2 separate regions of the Homo sapiens genome follow, and region 2 is linked to region 1. Evidence: promoter capture Hi-C in 16 types of primary human blood cells and fetal thymus (Javierre and others, 2016). All regions are on one chromosome and are shown on one strand. Each heading gives the region's core, a stretch centred on a gene start or on the middle of the fragment in contact. The rest is flanking DNA. Distances are from core to core; before and after follow the strand shown.

Evidence for each region. The method cuts DNA at HindIII sites, captures the fragments that hold promoters and counts their contacts. A CHiCAGO score of 5 or more calls a contact.
Region 2: a fragment that was not itself captured here is called in contact with the fragment with the promoter of MPP7 in region 1 in 1 of 17 cell types (fetal thymus); the score reaches 7.7 in fetal thymus.

The regions. Positions count from the first base shown.
Region 1 is chr10:28,300,418-28,305,213 of GRCh38, reverse strand. It overlaps MPP7 (MAGUK p55 scaffold protein 7), which reads left to right and starts at 2,150. Exons shown (of 17, transcript NM_001318170.2): 1 at 2,150-2,353. MPP7-DT (MPP7 divergent transcript) reads right to left here and starts at 2,045. Exons shown (of 2, transcript XR_930772.3): 1 at 785-2,045. RefSeq lists a silencer at 1,964-2,603. The HindIII fragment of the contact is 2,637 bases long and covers 1,232-3,868 here.
Region 2 is chr10:27,749,067-27,753,862 of GRCh38, reverse strand. All of the region lies in intron 1 of MKX-AS1 (MKX antisense RNA 1), which reads right to left. Among named protein-coding and RNA genes, the nearest start is that of MKX, 5.6 kb to the right of the region's middle. The HindIII fragment of the contact is 962 bases long and covers 1,960-2,921 here.

The DNA.
Region 1 (4,796 bases), core at 901-3,400:
CTGCTATACATCACTTTTCTTCCTACTTCAAGTCCTTTGTTCTTGCTATTTTATCTGCCCTGGAGTTTTGCTAAGTTGGTGTTTTCTTATTTAGGTGGTGCCTCAAATCTTAGAGCATTTCTCTTAGATCATTTCTCCTTAAAGCATTTTTCTCCTTTCCCAAAATTAAGTGTGTCTCCCATCCCTCTGGTCACTGTTTTCTTCTTTGCCCTGATCCCGGTCTGGAAGTTTATCTTTTTATTGGATCATTGTCCATCTTCTGATAAAAACAGCTGCAAGTCTGTCTTGTTCAAGGCTATACTCTGAGTGCTTAGTAGAAAGCCTCGTTCATTGCAGTATCTAGTATTTGATGATTAATATTGATTACGTTTGATGAGTAAATGAATAAAAGAATAATCTTAGACATACATTATTTAATCCCAGTGAAAGAATGTTAGTGATGGAATTTCAGGTGTTATTGTAGAAGAAACTTTTGAAGGGTATTCCCTACAGTTTGTTCATACTAGGCTAAGTTCCTCTTCTTTTCCTTACACAATGTAAAAATATTAGATCTCAAAACTATTTGCTCAAAGTACTTACTTTAGGACACGTATTTTTAGACTACAGTTTAGAATTACAGTTATTATTAGAAAGGTTTGGTAAAAACTCTTTTTGTTAGGCAATAAGGTTATTCTGTCCTCCAAAGACCTTTACTTTATTCTCAGGAAGTAAGAGAGAAAAAAGAATTTCTTGTCTTCTTTCTATCAGGTGTTTTGCCCTTACTTCTCTTTAAGTTTATGTTTACCTTAACATTCCTTTCCTTCCTCAGGTTTGCTTTTTGTCTATCTCCATTTTTCACTATTACGTAATTCACGGAGTTGCTGGGGGGAAGTGCTTAATTTCAAATAGCCTGTTTTAGAACTTTGCGAGAATGACAAGAACAAACAGAATGTTAAGGCAGCTAGAGAGAGTTAAGTGAGAGTGGTCCCTAGGTGAGAAATGCTTCTTGCCTTCTAGGCTGACACCAGTTCTGGGGGATGTGTTCTGAGAGCTCATATTAACTGCAGGTCATTGATCCTTATCTCAATCCCCTTCCTCTCCCTTCAGCTTTCCATTCAAAGTCTCTATCACATCTTGAAGTGTTGTCACATTATTTTTTTTCTGATGATTCCCTCCATCAGCTGAGCTTTCCAATTTATATTACCTGATTTTTTTTTGTCTTCTGCTTTTTACTACCCCTTTTTCTAAAGCTTTATTGATTGTGTACTTTGGATTCTAATTCTTCCTATAAGAGTCTTCCTGTAATTCTGTTTGCAGTGTAGTGCTGTCCACATTATGTGTTGGTTACATGATAGGAAGGAGTATGGGGGCACCTCGGTCACATATGTAAAGTTCTTTAAGAGAGCTGAAGGGCGCTGATACCAGTTCATGTTTTTTCGGGGTAGCCCTCAGATATTAAGCATGTTTACTGTATTTTCTTCTATTGTGAAAGAATCAGTTCTCTGGATTTCCTTAAAGTTTGTCTTTACCATTCTCCGCACCCTACTCATTTTTCTATTTAAGAATTTTTTTTTCTAATCATGTAGTACATGTTCAATATGGAACACAAAAAGGTAATAAGAAAAAGTCACCTACAGTGTCGCCAAAGGTGAAAACACCTTATGTCTTTTTTCGTGCATAACAATATCCCTCTCAATCTTATGCAGCATTTTTAAACCTAGGAGACTTGTCTGAATCCAAAGGAAGTTAAAGATTACGTTATTCACCAAGTTCATACTGAAATCAGAGAATCGCAGCGGCTTAAGAAAACTCGCATCTGGCGAATGAACCTGCGTATCCGGGGTTCTCCTCAGGGAGGTTGCTCGTCCATGAAACACACTCCAGTCTGCAGCCACCTGGGAGTGGGAACCAAGGGCGAGCGAACCGGGCGGGCAGGGGTGGAACTTGCGGGGACTGCGGGTATGAGGAGGAGCTACAGAGCTGTCACCAATCAGAGCCCAGCTTTGTTTTCTCTTGCCGACCAATGAGGGAGTTCTGCTGGAGAGGCGTCTTCAAGTCTGAGACGCCTATCGCCTTCGCAGCCTATCAGCAGGCCCCTCTTACCCGCGGGCGGTGCAGCCCCGCCCCGCCCCTCCAACCGCGGTCCCGCCCCTCCGAGGGTGGGGGCCGTGTTGGTTACTAGCCGGGCTGGAGGCGGGGGCCGGGCTCCCACTGGGCTCGTGCGTTCTGCGCCCGCCGCGGCGGTGCCGAGCCCGCTGGCTCCCGATTGTCCTCTGCGGCGGTGGCGGTCGCTGCCTCCTTGCCTCCGGGCCCGGGGCTGCAGGGGCCAGAGCGAGTGCGCCTCCTGCCCGCGGACCGCGGCAGCCCAGAGCAGGTAATGGGGCGCCTCTGGGGAGCGCCTGTCGGAGCCCAGGGCTAGGCTCGGGCGGTGGGGTCGGCCCCCGAAGCTGCTCCCTGCGCCGGCGACCGGGCCGAGCGGTGCCGCGGTCCTCCGGAGCCTCCTGCCGGCCTCTAGGCGCCTCAGCCTGGGAGCCCGCGGCGGGCACCTTGTGAGGAGGTGGGGGCGGGGCCGGGGCAGGGGCGGGGCCGCCTCGGGCGGGACCCTGAGGACCCCTGGAGACCCCTGTTGACGCGCGGGACTCCGGGCGGGGGCGGCGGCGGGGCAGACCCAGAGCGGGGAGAACCGACAGGTGGAGGAAAAACTGCGGAGTTGAGTCAGAGTCCGGCTCCCCGGGGAAAAGAACCGACTGAAAGGGAGCGATAAGCTGGCTGGCTTCTTTTTTTTCTTTCCCTAAGCCAGAAAGGCGTCTTCACTTGGGTCGTGTTAATTACATGTTTTCTGAGAACAGGCGTTTGGCCGTGTAATCTACACGATAGCATTATTTATTTACTTATTTGCTATTTAAAAAATTAAAAGCAGCATTTAGCGTGAATCTATTTGGGGGCTTTTTCTTAAGTGACAGGTAGACCCAGCCGAGTAACTCAGCTTTGTCTGGGCTGAAGTGGGGAGCGGTGAGGTAGGAATGAGGGGGAGGAGTGTTCGTGAGGAATGCCTGTGCAGGTTTGAAAGGATTGTGGGGGTGGGACCTTGTTTCTGTCACTGTGCCATGGGTGGGAGTAGAATTGTGATTTTTTTCTTTTTCTAATTTTTAAAAGCAATATTCACATTTAAAAAAGGGGGGGCTCTCTAAAAACAGTCTCTGTACTCGAGGCTTTGGGGATGCACCTGCTAGTCAGGCAGTAATAGTTTGCAGGTAAATCCTGGGCTATTAATTACGTAATTTGATTTACTTATAAAGAAGTATCTTGAATTGTTGCTGCCTTTCCTTTGACTTGCTCAATATATTGCTTGTTTACAAGTGAATTGATGAAGGTCACTGAGTTTTAGCGGTAATGTCACAGCGATGGCCCTTGGAGAGTTTTCTATGCTCAGGTTCACTCTGGTTCTATAAAAACAGTATTTCCATTTAATCGTGAAGCTCATAGCACTCTATCAATTATATAGTATGCCATCCTCCTACTCTTCTGAGGCAGGCTGTGCATAGCATGTCCATTTTACAGGTATGTCAACTGAAAGCCCTAGAAATGAAAGGAATCCTGCCCCACTTTACTCCTACTTTATTTTATACCTATAATGGATTTAATCCAAAATCTGGGTAAGATTCCCGCCATCAAGCCAACTTCTGCATACCAATTTGATCCCGTATACACAGGTCAGAGGTGGAGATGGTTATTTTCAAGTAAAGAAATATTATCTGCGAGGTTTTTCTTTCCATTCAGGTTGCTTAGCTAGTTTGAATTTCAGGTGAAAGGTAATTTTCCACACAGGCAAAACAAACAAAAGTTAGGAATGCTGTGTGAAAATCTCTATTTTAAATTTTGGGAAGCTTTCCAAATTAGAGAACCTTATTTGTGTTTGCATCTCTAGCTCAGCATTGAATTTCGGTACCTTTTTTTGAATTGAATAGAAATAATTGATATGCAGAAGGAAAATACTAATGAAGTGTAATGCATTTTGATCATGACTTATGACTTTGTTTCGGGAAGTGTTTACTGTAAATTTATAGACGGATTGAAGAATAATTTCTTAATTAGAATAACTTGACCAAAGGAGTTTGGGCATTAGTGTGGGACAGGCTGAAATGGGTAGTTGGGAGTAGCCGCTTGTATGATGTTAAGGCTTAGGGAATTCTAGAGAATCGTTAGGTTTTGTTAAATTTACTAGTTATCAGGAACATGAAAATGTCTTATGGATTACTGAATGGAACTCTTTTTTTTTTTTTTTCTGAGGTGGAGTCTCACTCTGTTGTCCAGGCTGGAGTGCTGTGGCTCACTGTGATCTCTGCCTCCCTGGTTCAAGTGATTCTCCTGCCTCAGCCTCTTGAGTAGCTGGGACTACAGGCGCATGCCACCACGCCCAGCTATTTTTTTTTTTTTAATATTTTTGTAGAGATGGGGTTTCACTATGTTGGCCAGGCTGGTCTCGAACTCCTGACCTCAAGTGATCTGCCTGCCTTGGCCTCCCAAAGTGCTGGGATTACAGGCGTGAGCCATTGCACCCAGCCTGAATGTAACTGTTCTAATCATGAAGTTATCTCTTGTTTTGTGGCTAATACCTCTGTTTCACATGTACATTTTAACATATTCATGTAACATATAAGGCAACTCTTCTTACACAAGGCTGTCACTCTAGCCCAGCATTTATTTACTTATTTATGTTTTAGTGGCTTTATTTAACTTTTACTCTCCTGTCAAAATTTCTAGCACCCAAGCAAAAATTTCCATAAAGGAACTTTTATCATCTGTTGATTATACAG
Region 2 (4,796 bases), core at 1,191-3,690, 550 kb after region 1:
GCTAGGCAAGGATCGTGTCTTTTAAATCAGATACGATGCAGTTCTTGGCACAGAACTTTGCATGCGGGTGCTCCATAAATACGTATTGTTGATTATTAAAAAGAAAACAATAAAAAATAGCTCAAATTTTGTGAGTTTTTTGGAGGGGGGGTGGTGGGGTGTCAGTCAGAAAACAGTAAGCCTTGAAAATTAATCAGCATTTTCCGTGATTACATAAAACATAAGCATCAAAACCCAAGTACCAATACTGCGCCTAAAGGCAGATCATATCAATAACTAAGGCATATCGTATCAATCGCTAAGGCATATCACATCAATAACTAAGGCATATCATATCATATTGTATCATATCAATAACTAAGAAGAGGAAGAAAGAAAGGAAGGGAAGAAGGGAAGAAGCGGGTGAGAGGAAGGATGTAAGCAAGAAGGGAGGGAAAGAGGAAGAAAGAAATGAAGGAAGGGAGGGAGGGAGGGAGGAAGAAAAGATGGAAAGAAGGGAGAGAGAGAGGAAGGAAGGAAGGAAGGAAGGGAGGGAAAAGAGAGAGAGGAAGGAAGGAAGGAAGGAAGGGAGGGAAAAGAGAGGGAGAAAGGAAGGAAGGAAGGAAGGGAGGGAAAAGAGAGAGAGGAAGAAAGGAAGGAAGGAAGGGAGGGAAAAGAGAGGGAGAAAGGAAGGAAGGAAAGAAGGAAGGGGGGAGAGAGGAAGGAAGGAGGAAAAAGAGGGAGAGAAGGAGAAAGGGAGAGAGAGTAAAGAAAAGAAGGAAAGGAAAGGAAAGGAGAAATGAAAGGAAATGAAAAAGGAAAGGAAATGAAGGAAAGGGAAGGGAAGGGAAGGCAAGGGAGGGGAGGGGGAAGGGAAGGGAAGGGAAGGGAAGAGAAGGGCAAGGGAAGGGAAAGGAAAGGAAAGGGGAAAGGAAAGGAAAGGGGAAAGGAAAGGAAAGGGGAAAGGAAAGGAAAAATTAAGATTTTTAAAAAGACCATAGCGCCAAATAAATGTGAAAATAATAAGGCTGATTCTCTAAACACATGCAACACTGTCTCAGGAGGCAAGGGGAGGAAGCACTTTTTCTTTCCATCTCCTTTCCAGATCGCCCTGGTGTGGCAGCCTCTAGGCATCTAGGAAGCGCTTTTCTTAAGCCCACCTGTGGCCACTGGGATCATTTTTTTTACAAGTGTCTATTACTTAGGGTAAAGACTAAGTTCCTTTAGCAAGGAAGCCCCCAAATACAGTGACTTAAATAAGGGGTATTTGTCTCCCCTGCAATGAGAGCTGAGTAGTCCAAGTCATAGGTCAGCAAACACAACCCCTCGCCGGCAAAATGCAGCTCATGGCCTTTTCCAATTTCTCAGGTAAGAATAGCTTTTACATCTTTAACTGGTTGGAAATAAAAAATAAAAGCAGCAACACTATTGTATGTGTATGTCTCTTCTCATGCTGCTAATAAAGACATATCTGAGACTGGGTAATTTATAAAGGAAAGAGGTTTAATGAACTCACAGTTCCACATGGATGGGGAGGCCTCACAATCATGGCAGAAGGAGAATGAGGAGCAAAAGGACGTCTTACATGGTGGCAGCCAAGAAAGCTTGTGCAGGGGAGCTCCCCTTTATAAAACCATCAGATCTCATGAGACTTATTCACTATCACTGCTATCACAGGAACAGCACGGGAAAGACCTGCCCCCATGATTCAATTACCTCCCACCAGGTGCCTCCCATGACACGTGGGAATTGTGGGAGCTACAATTCGAGATGAGATTTGGGTGAGGACACAGCCAAGCCATATCAGTGAGAATGAGAATGACACAAATTCAATCTTTAGTGTCATTCAATCAAGTCTTATTGGAACACATCAACACTCATTCCTTAACTCATTCATAGTCAAGTCTTGTCTACAGTTGCTTCTGCACCACAGTGATGGAGTTCAATCATCATCGGGGAGATCACGGGGCCCAGAAAGCTTTTGCTATCCGGCCCTTTACAGAAAAAGGTTTTTGGACTCAGGTTAGGTTAGCCTGATAGCTCTCACTGGAGTGATTCATTCAAAGCCACAGGTTCCCTTTATCTTGCGATTCTGCTGTTTCTTAGGTTATTTGCTGCTCGGCTGACATGGGTCACTGCCTGTTACGGACTGACCTGTGTCCCCTCAAAATTCATATGTGACACCCTAACCCCCAATGGAACTGAACTTGGAGACAAGGCCTTTAATGAGGTGAATAAAGTTAAATGAGGTCAGCCAGGCATGTTGGCTCACTTTGGGAGGCCAAGGTGTGTGGATCACTTGAGGTCAGGAGTTTGAGACCAGCCTGGCCAACATGGCAAAACCCCATCTCTACTAAAAATACAAAAATTAGGTGGGCGAGGTGGCAGGCACCTGTAATCCCAGCTGTTCAGGAGGCTGAGGCAGGAGAATTGCTTGAACCTGGGAGGCAGAAGTTGCAGTGAGCCAAGATAGCTCCACTGCACTCCAGCCTGGGTAACAGAATTAGACTCTGTCTCAGAAAAAAAAAAAAAGTTAAATGAAATTACAACAGTGGGATCCTAATTTGCTACAACTGGTGTCCTTTTTAAAAAGAGGGAGAGGTAGCAGACCTCTCTCTCTCTCTCTCTCTCTTTCTCTTTCTCCTCCTCTCTACCCCACCCCAGCATGAGCACAGAGAAAAGGTCATGTGAGGACACAGTAAGAAGGTGCTGTCTGCAAGTCGGGGAGAGAATTTACCAGAAACCAACCCTGCCAGCACCTTGATCTTGGACTTTGAGTCTCCAAAACTGTGAGAAAATACATTTCTGTCATTTAAGCCACCCAGTCTGTGATATTCTGTGATGGCAGCTGGAGTGAACTAATACCCTGCCACATCCATGCTCCAACCGTTGGACACAGGAAGAGTTAAAGGGAGAGAAGGGCAGCAATTTCCTTCTAAGCTTGTTGAGCAGAAGTTGCACACATCACTCCTGCTCACATTCAGTCCTTTGGTGAATCTATTCAGTTATCCTACACATAGATTGAAAATGAAAACAGAGAAGATGGATTTGGGGAGGGTCAACCAAAAGCATGACACATTTTGGAGCACATATCATGATTAAATATTTAAAATCTACGGATTTCCTGAAGTCCATTAGGTTTCATACATAGAGCCCTACTGGCCTAGGGACAAAAGTCTTCACTATTTTTATTTAAAAGGACACTTTTTGACATAAAGGCAAATTGATTCTCAAGCTAGAAGAGTCTTCTGAAAGTAATTCTAGTATGTAAGTGTAAATGCGTATTTTAAGGATGAAATATTCTGCCAGTTCCCCTCAAGACCCCAATGTATAGTATATTTTCTTGTGTGTAATATAGGGGACTCTAATTTGAGGTCACTGAAGATACTTTGGTATCAAGAGAAAAGATGGGTTGTTAGGGGTCAGTGTCACATCAGGTCCTGTCTCAAGCAAGACCTGGAGTAGAACAAGACGTTAACCCACTTGGATCTCAGTTCTATTGATTGCTTATTATGTGTATTTTCTGCACTTGCACATACTTAATGGTTTTTAAAATTGCGGTGATAAAGTACTTGCATTTCTGGCCAGAATGAATTTGACTCATATATAATCATTATCAAATGTTCCTATCTTGACTAGCTGCTTTGTGAAGAAAAAAAAATTAATTCCCATTCCATGAAATGTTGAGCAAGGAGAGAAATACATTTTACTTTTTCAAACAATGGGTGCTTTTTCATCACTTTTACAAATAACCTTATATTGCTTGTGATAGGGTATCCCTTCTTTGTTACATGATGTGTTTGAAAAGCTATGTGCAGTCACACTGTACTGTGGAAAATACAGCTGCTGGAAACTGATCTCCTGCTTCTAAGCTGATAAATGACTTCATCCTAGAACACCATTGAATCAACCATCTCAATCTGAACCATAACTTATTAAGAAGCCAAGTGGAAAAATGTTTTAAAGTATTAGATGAAAATACAAAAAGAAAAAAAGCCTTCTTAAGCAAGACACAAAAACCAGAATTCAAAAAAGGAGACTGACATACTGATCTATTTACATTTAATCATTCTGTAAGACAAAGACAAAATAGATAAAAGTCAAGTCACAGACCAGGTAACATATTTGCAACATGTAAAAATATATATCATGAAAAAATGATTTATAAATAAACATTATAAATCAATAAGGCATCTCATAAGGATATAAGCAAAGGCAATTCAATTAAGAAATGCAAATGGCTTATAAAGGAAAATGTTTTCAAACAATGAGGCATTATTTTACTCATCATTTAGGCAAACATTATGAAGACTGAACACATGCAATGCTATGTAGCATGTGAGGAAATTGGAGCATGCATGTGTCAGCAGTGGTGTAGGTTGGAGAAAAATTTGGAAGTATCTATCAAAATTTAAAAACCGTGTTTCCTTCAACCTAGAAATTCTACGTCTGGGTAACTATTCCTAGAGAAACACGTTATGCATATACAGAAATAATCATATGCAAAGATGTTTGATGTTTATATAGTGAAAATTGGAAAGACAGACATATTCATAGGAGAATGTTTAAGGAGATTATGGAGTCTTATGTAACAGTTTAAAAGAAGGAGTTACATGTATGCCTACTAATACAAAAGTTCTTTAGGACATCACTGAATGAAAAAGCAAGAATTAGTTTAATACTCAGTATGTATATGTACATTTATATACAGCCTCATTTATTTTAAAAATTCATAAAGCAAAACTATAATTTATTAATTTTATTCATGTATGTAAATGCATAGAAAAAACTTGAGCAGATGCATATCCAACCTGCAA